Regions from separate parts of the Homo sapiens genome. Here region 1 is linked to region 2. The links are contacts of gene promoters, found by promoter capture Hi-C in blood cells and fetal thymus (Javierre and others, 2016). All regions are on one chromosome and are shown on one strand. Each heading gives the region's core, a stretch centred on a gene start or on the middle of the fragment in contact. The rest is flanking DNA. Distances are from core to core; before and after follow the strand shown.

The links. Contacts are between HindIII fragments. The CHiCAGO score rates a contact against its expected background, and 5 or more counts as called.
Region 1: a fragment that was not itself captured here is called in contact with the fragment with the promoter of TMOD2 in region 2 in 6 of 17 cell types (M1 macrophages, neutrophils, M2 macrophages and 3 more); the score reaches 7.1 in M1 macrophages.

What each region holds. Positions count from the first base shown.
Region 1 is chr15:51,664,988-51,671,120 of GRCh38, forward strand. No RefSeq gene overlaps it. Among named protein-coding and RNA genes, the nearest start is that of SCG3, 13 kb to the right of the region's middle. The HindIII fragment of the contact is 7,589 bases long and covers 1-6,133 here.
Region 2 is chr15:51,749,049-51,755,352 of GRCh38, forward strand. It overlaps TMOD2 (tropomodulin 2), which reads left to right and starts at 2,549. Exons shown (of 10, transcript NM_014548.4): 1 at 2,549-2,664. It also overlaps a transcript of LYSMD2 not described here. RefSeq lists an enhancer at 2,103-2,172 and silencers at 2,283-2,712, 2,763-2,872, 2,903-2,962. The HindIII fragment of the contact is 6,757 bases long and covers 1,985-6,304 here.

The DNA.
Region 1 (6,133 bases), core at 1,218-3,717, 84 kb before region 2:
CCACAATTTGCATTTGTTACATCTCTTAAGTCTTGTGCAATCTGGAACAGTTTCAGTCCACACTTATCCTCCCATGACAGTGACTTGTTGAGGAGGCTAGAAAAGTAGTCTCTTCTATTAACAGTCTGGTAGAATTTTCCACCTTCTGGAGTTGTCTCATTGCTTCCTCACGGAGGCAGGATTTATTCCTCTAGCCCCTGGAATTTAGATCTAAAGGACTTATTAGATTCAAGTAAACTTTTTTTGGCAAGACTATTTTAGTGGTACTTTAAATTGCATTATAGCAGGATGCCCATATGTCTGGTTGTTCCACTATTTGTGATGTTAAGATTGATCCCTAGATTCAGGGAGTGACAGACTGATTTCTTTAAAAAATAACAGCCTTATTCAAATATAATTCATATACCATGCAATTCACCTATTTAAAGTGTATAGCTCGGTGATTTCTAGTCTATTCACGGTGCTGCGTAACCATCACTGTAAATATTTTCAGAACATCTTCAACACCCCAGAAAGAAACCCTATACTCATTAGCAGGCATCACCCCCACTTCCCAACTACCACCACCACCACCCCCAGCCTTGAGCAACCACTAATCTACTCTTTGTCACTATAAGATTTATCCATTCTGGACATTTTATATAAATAGAATTATACAATATGTGGTAACAGCCTGACTTTTGCATTGTAAAATTGCACCCTGCCATTCATTGCCTCATGACTAGCAGTAATCTGTCAGGGCAAATATTATTTAAATAGTGAAAACCTTCTTTTCTGATAGTGTTTATATTGGGCAGTGAGAGGAAAAATACATATTTTTTCCAATTTTAAAAATTGTGGTAAAGTAAATATAACATAAAATTTATCATCTTCACCAATTTTTAAGTGCACTGGTCAGTGGCATTAAATACATTCATAATGTTGTGCAACCATAACCACCAACCATCTCCATAACTCTTTTCATCTTGTAAAACTGAAACTCCATACCCATTAAACAATAACTCCCTATTTTCTCCTCCCATCATCCTCTGGCAAACACCATTCTACTTTCAAAATACACAGTTTTAAAATTAAAATATTATATCAAATATCGTTTTTTTTTCTTTTGAGATAGAGTTGTGCACTGTTGCCCAGGCTGGAGTGTAGTGGTGCGATCTCTGCTCACTGCAACCTCCGGCTCCTGGGTTTAAGTGATTCTCCTGCCTCAGCCTACCAAGTAGCTGGGATGACAGGGATCCGCCATCGCGCCCAGCTAATTTTTTGTATTTTTAGTAGAGTGGGGGTTTCACCATGTTAGCCAGGCTGGTCTTGAACTCCTGGCCTCAAGTGATCCGCCCACCTTGGGCTCCCAAAGTGCCGGGATTACAGGCGCAAGCCATTGCGCTCAGCCAAAATATCCTTAAGTAGCACTTAACTACCTTTGATCTGTAGAAACCTTTTTTCCCATTGACTTGTAATTTCTTACTATGGCATATTTTAAAGACACATATTCTTTAAAAATTTATGATAGTGCAAAAAGAAGGGAAAGGGTCTTTGAAAAAGATTACTTGGCTGCTTACCAAAATCAGGAAGGTAGTCTTCCATCGCACTTGTGTTTTTTCCCTCAGCTCATTTCAATAGGACTCTAGTATGCAATTACAAAATAATTTATAGAGGTACTCAATATGTACCTTGCAAATATTTAAATTAATGGTTCTGTCTCTAATTTAACTGCATACTAAGTTCTTCTGGGGAGCTTGTGAAGACTTCCAACGTCAGCGTCCAGGTTCTATTCCATACCAGAGAAATTAGCATCTTAGGCAGCATATAACAGCTGATAGTGATGCTTGTGTACTTAACCTCACAACACATCAAGAGGCACATAATGTTGAGTTGATGCCAGTGACTGATGCTGAATTTGGTCACCAAATTAAAATGATGCCTACTAAGTCACTCCGTTGCAAGGCGTATTTTCTGTTTGCAATTAGCAAGTAATCTGTGGGGTGATATTTTGAAATCTTGTGACTACTCTGTTCCCCAATCATTTTTCACCTAATGGTTTAAGCGGTCATTGATAATTCTTGTAATATGAGGTTGTAAAGTGATGATTTTCTAGTTCTAGAATTCTTTTCTGATTTGTTAGCTTGCATTCTTCTGTAAAGAAGAAGGATTACTCCCCAGCCCCTACCGTTTTTTTGTTTTTTGTTTTTTTTGAGTATCCATTATGGATTCATGGATTTTTATTTGTCCAAAGTATTACTCTCAGATATCCTCAGTCACTACAGTCATTATTTTAATGCTAAAATTGTCTTGACTTTGCTAATCGAGGATCACTTTAAACATGGCCTTGGGTCTTCATATATATATATATATATGTTAGTTTTTTTTAAATTCAGATATAATATACACACAATAGAGGACCTAATTACAGCTTGAGGAATTTTTAAATACGTATACAGCCATGTAATTACACTCAGATCAAGATATTTACTATTTCCAGTACCCTAGAAGGCTCCTTCATGTCCCTTCCCTACCAATACTTACCCCCAGACCCAGAATAATCACCATTCTGACTTCTACCACCATAGATAAATTAGCCCATTCTTGAACTTCATATAAACAAAAACACGTGTTCTTTTGTGTCTGGCTTCTTTCACTCGTCATTATGTGTGCGAGATGTATTCCTGTTGTTGCATGTGGCAGTAGCTCATTCTTTTCTACCGCTGATCACTTCAGAAATGAAACTGCTAAACCAAGGGGTACATATCTTTTCATCTCAGGCATCTGGCATATGTATTTTTAGGCTTTTGATTTATATAACCCACCTGCTTTCCAAAAGGCTTATGCCAATTGCTCTCTCACCAGAACGATATACTTAAGGACACGTTCTTCCATATCCTTGCCAAATCTAGCATTTATCTTTTCAAAAACCTTTCCTAAATTTGAAAGAAAACTAATAGTTTCTTCCTTTGAAACATTGTGCTTCTCTTATTACTCATTGGGTGTTATTTTTCATAAGTTTTTGACCACTCACATATTTATTATTTGCAATATTTCTTTCTGAGTGTTCTTTTCAAAGACTGAGCTAGTTGTGGAGACAAAATAGGAACACAACCCTTTGTTATAATTATATATGTATAGTATGTATTGTATTTATACATATGAATGTAAAGTTCAATTATATTATAACTTTTAGTAATTGAATGTTAACCAATGTTATGCAAGAAAGTAGATTCCATGGCTAAAGAAGTTTAGGAAATGTTAAAAACTATTTTTGTTTTGTTTTTTAAATTGTGGACCTCATAAACTTTATGATGCTAATGTGTAATGCGAATCTTCTAATATTCCTGTGTTCCTAAGAGGAAAATTTATATAAAGTTCTGAAGAACACAATTTGGGTTATTCTGCCTTAGAGCACATTCTTAAAGTAAGATTTATCAGGAAAACTAAATGAAATGTCCCTTTTTTTCCCTCACCTTGGCTGTGGTAAGCCGAATTATACATCTTCTTCCACCTCATCCCACCCCCAAAGATGTTCTTGTCTTAATATGTGGAACCTGTATGTTACCTTCTACGACAAAAGGGACTCTACAGATGTGATTAAGTCATGAGGATGATCACATCCTCATGATGAGAAGATTATCCTGGATTATCTGGGTAGGCCCAGCCTAATCACATGGGTCCTTAAAGGAGAGAACCTTTTCAGGCTGTTGTCAGAGGGAGATGTGACCACTGAAGAAAGGTCAGAGGGAGAAGCAAACTCGCTGGCCTTGAAGATGGAGGAAGGGGCCATGAGCAATGAATGCGGCAGCTGCTGGGAGCTGGGAAAAGCAAGGAAACGGAGTTTCTTTAGAGTCTCCCCTACTGTCTCCAGAAGGAAGGCAACCTTTCCGACGCCTTGATTTCAGCCCAGTGAAACAAGTATTGGAATTCTGACCTACAAAACCATAAGATAATAAATTTTTGTCATCTTAAGCCCCTAAATTTGGGGTAGTTTGTTTCAGAAGCAGTAAGAAACTAATATACTGGTCAACATTTAGTGTTGTCAATATTTTCAATTGTTGCTAATTTGAAAATTCAAAAATGATATTTTATATTCATTGTAAAATGAACATTTTATAACTTAATGAATTTTCTTCCTATTTTTGAATTTCTGTTTGTGTCCTTTTCCTATTTTTCTTTTAGAGTGTTTCCATTTTATCGTTGATTTATATGAGCTTTTTATATATTATGGAAATTAAGTTTTGCAGGTATTTTCCTGGTTTTTCAAACTTATAACACTTTTGTAATTTTTTAAAACATGAATTTTAGATATCTTATCATTCTTTTTCTTTATGTTTACTTTTCTTTCTTTCTTTCTTTCTTTTAAGGCAAGGTCTTACTCTATCTCCCAGACAGGAGTGCAGTGACATAATCACAGTTCACTGCAGTTTCAACTTCCGAGCTCAAGGGATCCTCCCTCTTTACCCTCTGTGGAGTAGCTAGGACTACAGGCATGCACTACCATGCCCTGTTAATATATTTATTTTTTGTAGAGACAGGGTCTGGCTTATTGTCCAGGCTATATTGTCCTGGCCTCGAGTGATCCTCCCACCTTGGCTTCTAAAGTTCTGGGATTACAGGTATGAGTCACAGCACCCAGCCCTTTATGTTTTCTATCTGTAATGTTTAGGATAGTGTTTTTCTTCTCAAGATTATGAAAGTAGGCTGAGCATAGTGGCTTATGCCTGTAATCCCAGCACTTTGGGAGACCAAGTCAGGAAGATCTCTTGAGCCCAGGGGTTTGAGACAAGCCTGGTTAATGTAGGGATGCCCTGTCTCTGCGAAAAATTAAAAAATTAGCTGGGCATGTTGGCTCACATCTGCAGTCCCAGCTACTCAAGAGGCTAAGATGGGAGGATTGCTTGAGCCTGAGACATCAAGGCTACAGTGAGCCATAATCATGTCACTGCACTCCAGCCTGGGTAACAGAGTGAGACCCTGTCTCAAAAAAGCACACAAACAAAAAGACTGTAAAAGTATTCACACATTTTTTTTCATGTTTTCACTTTACATGTTTGATCTGTATACAATTTATTTCAATGAAGGTGTGAGGAATACATTCATTTTTCTTTTTCTTTTTTGTTTTCTTTTAGACAGGGTCTCACTCTGCCGCCCAGGCTGGAATGCTGTGACACAATCATGGCTCACTGCAACCTTGATCTCCCTAGACTCAGGTGATCCTATCACCTCAGCCTCCCTAGTAGCGGAGATTACAGATTCATGCCACCACATCTGGCTAATGTTTTATTTTTTGTAGCGATGGGGTTTCACTGTGTTGTCCAGGCTGGTGTCAAAATCCTGGGCTCAAGCAATCCACCCACCTTGGCCTCCCAAACATTTTAATAAAAAATTGTTAGCTAATCATACAAACATCATTTAAATGTGCCCTCCAATGTTCATGTGTTGAAAACTTAATCACCAGTGCAACAGTGTTGTGAAGTGGGACCTTTAAGAAGTGATTATGTCATGAGGACAGAGCCTAACCCTGGAATTAATGGGATTAATGGACTAATGTCCTTATCGTGGGAATGGGTTTGTTGTAAAAGTGAGTTCAACTCTCTTGCACACTGTCTTGCATGTGATGCCTTCCACCATGTTATGACGCAACAAGAAGGCCCTCACCAGGTGTGACCCCTTGATCTTGGACTTCCCAGCTCCAGAACCATGAGGCAAATAAACTCCTATTGTTTATAACTTATCCAGTCTCAGGTATTCTGTTATAGCAGCACAAAACAGATTGATTTTAAATGCCACTTGTACAGTGTACTAAACCACCATATTGCAGGGAAACTAGTTAGAAAGCTATGACAGTGGTTCTATTTCTGGACTGTTTTTTTCTATCCCTGTGCTGGGGCCAAATTGTTTTAGTTACTTTAGCTTTATAATTTAATATCTGGCCAGCCAGCTCACCTTCATTTTCTTTTAAAACTTTCTTGCTTATTCATTTATGTGTTCATTCACTCAAAAAATGTTTATTGAGCACCTACTCCATGCCAGACTCTGTTCCACGTGTTGGAATATGAGATAGACAAGGTTCCTGGCCTCAAAGAGCTTGCATAGTCTAGAGGAGGAGATGGACCATGAAGCAAATTTATTAAATGTTGTCATAAAT
Region 2 (6,304 bases), core at 1,299-3,798:
GATATGTAAGGTCCCTTCCAGCTCCAGGAGTTCTGTTTCAATTTTACATTTTCATCTTCTAAAAAGCAAGTAGAAAAGTTAAACTTACAAGATATGGTCCAGAAATGATCATGGGTTTCAACTGATAAGTCATAGGCATATTGACATCCTTTCTTCCTTAAGATAAGACATAGGCAATAGATTTAAAGAGCTAAACAGACTGGAACTGGTAATATCTTTCCATTAAGTTTTAACATTAGGTTAAATGTTCTACTTCCCTCACTCATCCTTTAACACCTTCCAGCTTCCAACACTCATCATACAGACAGAGACTGATCAGAAGTTTCTTTTCACAACTCACTTTATTTTGGTGTCAGCATCCTCCTGGAGCATGGCTCTGGGGCTGTAGGATAGCTCTTGTATCTCTGCTTCGACTGCCGAACATGACTTTAACTTAAATCATTCCCCTGTCTGCTTCCTTTCATGGCTAGTTTCTGAAGGAATACTCTATTCGTTTTATCACATGCAGCCATTTTCCTCGTGCAGAACCACGGGAAACCAAAGAGAAATACTGTACACTACTGAGCACCTTTGCTACTCTTTCTTCCAATATGAATGAAATTGCTTTATTATTTTCAGCATATGCCTACTATCAGCTTTCTCTGGGAAAACTGCTGGCTCGATCCGTAAGCAGCCCTGTTCTTATTTAACAGAAGGCTATGACTGTAACAAATGTACAACATAAAAAAGTCAAAGGCATCCTGTCGGTTACACAGGACATTCGGAATAACAAATGTACAGGAAAACTTGGGAACATGACTTAAAGTAATTTGGTCACACCCCCATTTCATTTAACTCTTTCTGGCTCAGATTTGTCATTCTGACAGGAGGCCCAAGATATAGTCCATTACCACAATTGATCATAGAAACAACACTGGTCTCTCAGTCAGCAGCCACTGCGTGCCAGTGTTCATCATGCTAGTTCCCAGAGTTTTAGAGGATTAACTTTACTTTCTGGTTCAACCCATCTGCTGGGGAAGGTATGGCCCTATTTTGCAATGTGCAAAAGGGAGACAGTGCTGGGGGTGCCCACAGTGGAAGGAGAGAAGACAGGCTTACTGAACACCCCTATGACCTTGAATAAGTCACATCACCTCTCTGTGCCTCTTATTAACTATCATTGGGGAAAAATACCTTCACTCTGCCTGTCTCACAAGGGTTCTTGTAAAAATCAAATGAGAACACAAATAGGAAAGTATTTTCATAAATGCAAACCAGTGTTATCATTTTCAGATGTGGAATTTCCTCTGCAGCACGTTTTTTTGGCCACACGATTACTGCACACCTCGTGCCAGACAGACTATAAAGCTGTTTCACCTCTTTTCACATTTTGCCTAAAATTTCATATAGAGATTACACCAGCCATGCTGCATCCATCCCTTTGGTTCATTTTCCTCCACTACATCTGTGAATGCAAATCCCACCATCATGTGAAACACTGCATAGCAGCAACTTGCAAAACTCAACGAACCTTAGACTGCCAAGATAAGTCCCATAAGCAAAGGTTATGCTCAAAATATGCTGCAAAAGTTCAAGAAGGAGAGAGATATCACATCTAATTAGAAAAGGCCTCTGGAAGTTAAATCTAGATGCCATGTATTTTCATAATGTTGGTCTTTGTCCTATGTCACCCCACTCTGCTGTCATGCTTCAGAAACTTGACTTTATTTTCTCTATCTTTGGAGCTCTCAAGAACCTGGCAGACAGAACATCTCAGGGTATATTCAGGGATGAAGTGAACGGGCTCAACGACTAACAAACCCAGTGGATTTTAACATTTACCCAGCCCAACGAGGTCCAACTATCTTTAGGTTAGCACGACATATAGGACTTTCCCGGCCCAAGAACTCCCTCGGAAACCCCAAGGAAGGAACTTTCACTGAGTATGCACTAAGTGCCAGATCCTAAGTGCTATGGGTCGCTTAATCCTCACAACACTTTTTCAAGCTTGAAGCCTGTTTTACAGATGAGGACGCGAAGGCTCAGACAGGCTAAGTTGTCCGGTCTCACCTCAGTGAAGCCGCCACTGCGCTTGGGCTCTCCAGCCCCTCACGCCATCACCCTAGAGCCTTGCTAACTTCCACCTCGCTTACCTCCTTCCCTCCCTAGGCTGCCAACCCAACTACTCTCTCCTCCCACGCCCACGCCCAGCCAGGAAAACCTGGGGCGGGCGGGGTCTGTACCTGAGACCGCTCTCAACGCGGCTTCCGTGTCAGGATGCTCGCTCACAGGAATGCTCATCACAGGCTTGAAAGCCTTTGCCATCCACGCTCTCCGGAGCCCCGAGCGTCTCCAAAGAGCCTGCCCAGGCTTCTCCCCGACCCAGGTGCTTCCTCCCCTGCAGAGCTGTGGCGGGGTTCAGACCCCGATTCCGGGAGAGGACACCTGTCGGGGAAGGGCGGGGCTGGGGGACTGCGGGGCCGCGGCGAGGCTCAGCCGGGAACTACGCTTCCCAGCCTGCTCCGCTGCAGCCGCGCGCCCCGGCGCCGCGCCCGGCCGGGAGCCGCCTGTTGATCGCCGCGCTCGCCCCGGCCACGGCGCCGCCCCTGTTCTCCCGGCCCCGCTCCACCGGGGCTGACGGACTGACGGCCAGCACAGCCGGCTCCGGGATGAGCGCACGGACGGGTGAGCGCCCCGGGGGGCGGGTGGGGCCTGTTCTGGACAGCCGGTGTCTGCAGCCCCCGGGCCCGCAGCGCGGTGGCCGCCGTGCCCTCCCTGCCCGCGGGAGGATGCTCCGCGACATGGGCGGTCGGCCGGGCGGGCGTGCAGAGCCGGGCCGCCTCTCGCCTCTCGCCTCCCGGCCCGGTCGGCTGCGCCGGGAGACCAGGCGCTGCGCCCGGGCGGGAGGCGCCCGCCGGGGTGTGAGTCCCGCGCCCCGCACTGCGGTGCCGCAGCCTCTGCAGCCCGCTGGGCCGCAGCGGGGAGGGCGCGGTCTCCTGTCCTCCCGGGCTGCGGGGCTGTGTTCTTCCACTCCGGGCTTTGTTCCCCCACTTTTCCCCTTCCTGTGCATGTTTGGTGAGCTCCTGGAGCGGTATGCATCTCCCTGCCTCGTTCAGCAGGCGATGGGGAGGGGTGGACTGGCCGGCGTCTTTCCTGAGATCGCTGGAGCTGTCACTCGCAGGGCGTTTCAGCCTCCCAGTAAGCGGCCTCGTGCGGATCCTCGAGAACCTTATTATTATTGTTATTACTTTTCTGGTTAAAGTAATTGTAGTATGTGCTCCCTTGAGGCTTCCTAAATGTTCCCTGTTGACCTGCGGAAATGAAGGTGGATTTTTAAAACAGTAATAAAAGGCTTCTAATGGGAATTTTTAGAGTATTCAGAGGTAGGAAGGTGATGCCGTCACAATGCAAATTAGCAGTGAAGGAGGCCGTGCTTACTGCAGCTTCGTCTGTGCCCATTACATATCTGAATCACGAGGCATTTAGGACGGGAATGAAAAGAAGATCGGGGGAGGTGTTTTAAAAACCAGGTTCTCCTCTTAGCTTGACCATTCAGGAGCTGAGGGACCTGGGCAAGTCCCTCCACCTCTCTGGGCCTCTGCATGTAAAGGGGCGTTTGGGCTAAATGATTTGTAAACCTCTGTTCTTCCAAGATTCTCCCCTCTCAGGGAACTGAAAAGATGAGAGTGTTTCTGTTTAACAGCACTACAAAAAGCCTAATTGTGACAACAAGCGCCTCTACCCTAGTGAGGAGGAAAGATTTTTCAGAGCTTCAGCAATCTGATTTTTTTTTAAAGATAAAACTGATTTTCTCGATCGACTCTCTTCAGTCTAACCCAATAAATACGCATTGCAATCATTTTAATTTTTGTAAGGTACTGTACATTGGTGGGCAACAAAATGATGGGGTTTGTTTTTGTCTTTAATTTGCTGAAGGTGAAGTGATGGGATCAGCAGATAAAGGATTAGTGGCTCCCTAGGGCTGGGCACGAGTGGTCAAATGTGGTCAGCATGGAGGTCGGGGAGGAAGCCCCAGCAAGAAGTAACCAGAATGTGTATACACAGAAAAGAGAAGTTGCGTACTGATGGATCATTGTTTGAAAAAGAAATATGCAATAGAAGGAATGAGAGAATCAGGAACTCGGCGCTCTGCAAACCTAACATAACAGTTGAATAAGGCAAGGACTTACCAACTGGTCCAAAACCTTTGAGTGAAAGGTGGTTGGGGAATAGGATTTTCATATTATTTCAAAGTATCTCACCACAGTTTACTCTGGGAAAATTTGTCCTTACAATGGAGAAATTAGGAGGTCACCACTGGAACCAAATGACCAAGTTTAGCAGCATCTACTGCGAGTCTCCCGTTGTGAAGCAATAAGGAGGCATAATTTCACCTCTGTAGTGTTCCTGCAAAAAGACTTGGCGATGGGGCAGAGCAAATGGGAGCAACTATTGTAGGTTAAAATACTCAAGTGATACAATAGTGAATTGGGATGTGTGAACTTTGAATCCTAGATGCAAAAAAAAAAGCTATAAAAGACAATTTGGAGATAGTTGGGGATGTTTGAATATGGATTGCATGTTAGATGATATTATGGAATTGGTGTTAATTTTCTTAGGTGCAATAATAGTTCATTCTTGTGGTTACCTAGACCAGACAATCCTTATTCTTTGGAGATGTGGATATTGGAGGTGAAGTGTCATGACATCTGCAACTTTCAGCTGTGTCAGAAAAAAAAAAAAAAGGATAGGGGTAGCAGAACAAGTTCAGGAACGTAGCAAATGTGGCAGAATGATGACGGTTGGTGAATCAAGAAGAAAACAAATGTTTATTGTACTATTCTTTTAACTTTTCTATAGATTTGAACTTTAAGAAATGGGGAAGTCAATAAAATAAATAAGCGAATAAAGAGAAAGTGTTGTAGAAGACGGGGGTGGTTCGTGACAAACAGCTGCAGTGAATCTGTGGGGAATTTCTTGGCTTCACCTTCCCAAAATTGAAATCACCTATTGGAGGTGTGAGTGGGGGGGACGGGGGGTTGGTGTTCCCATTTTTGGTTTATCTTGGCTACTCTCAATCATTTATGCTTAAGTACCCCATCCTCTAGCTTCAACTTCAAAGTATTAGTAATTCTCCATACCTAAGAAATTCTAGCCCTACCCAAGAACCATCCCGAAAGTGCTGTCCCTTTCCTCTCTGTGTCCGAGATCTGTGTCAGTGTGTAAGGAAGTTTGAGAACATAGGCAGTGGTTCATTTTATTTTGGGTTAGGGTAGTGTTGGGGGAAAAATGATTTAGCTTTGTGATAGGATAGAAGTTTTGGGGTTTCCTCTCATTCCCTTGTGTGTAAATCATATACAACCAAATGTTTTCCTTATAGACTTTAAGTGGTTCAAAGAGGTTCATAGAAGGCATGTGCAGAAGAGACTTCCTGTTACCAGACCACGAAAACAGAATCAACTCTTACAACACTTAATCTCTTACACGGAATCCCTTGCTGCAAAGATATTTTTGCTTTACCTGGATTATATGTGTTTATGTATACATGAAAATACTAATTTAAAGTATACATATTTACTTGCATGAATGTCTGTGTGTACTTGTGAATCTCTCAGTCAGTATTCCCCAAAATACATAGAATGTTAATGGGTTACAAGAAAAAGAAATTGCCTAGCCAGATGTGGAAAACACTAAACAAAGCTGGACAAGTTGGTTTATTCTTGACTTTTCAGAGCCTTTCATGGGTTAATGATCATTGTATATGGGGATGTAAATGGGGTGGGAATGTCCATAGGATGTGATATGTAATGTTTCCCAAACTGTGTGCAAAAATAAAAAATGAAAAATATCTTGAGGGGCTATCGTTACATGGAACCACCTTTGAGAAACTGCCTTTAATGCATTTTTGAGTGAAAGGTCAGGACATATGATTAAATGTGTAAGTTGTAAGTATTTGTGCTTCACATTACTTACAGATTAGAATTCAAATTTCAGTTTCTGGTTTTAATGGATCATAACAGTTTGACCCCAGTCTACTTTTTCATCCTAAATTTCCTAACTTTCTTCCTATAAATTCTCCTGCTTAGTCCTTTGTTGTATACTATGAACCATTTTTATTTTCAGCACACCAAAAAGTCAATTCTACGTAACTTTAAGGCTTCGTGGTTGTGTAAAATGAGATGCGCTCTTCTGCTATGGCTCTTCCATGGACTGAAATAGCCACCTTTCCTCCCAAAGCCATTTTGAGTTCCTTGGCCTTGGTCCCATGTTTCAGCACAACCTTCCTTAAAGCTGTGATTTCTTGCTATTTCTGCTTTTATGATTT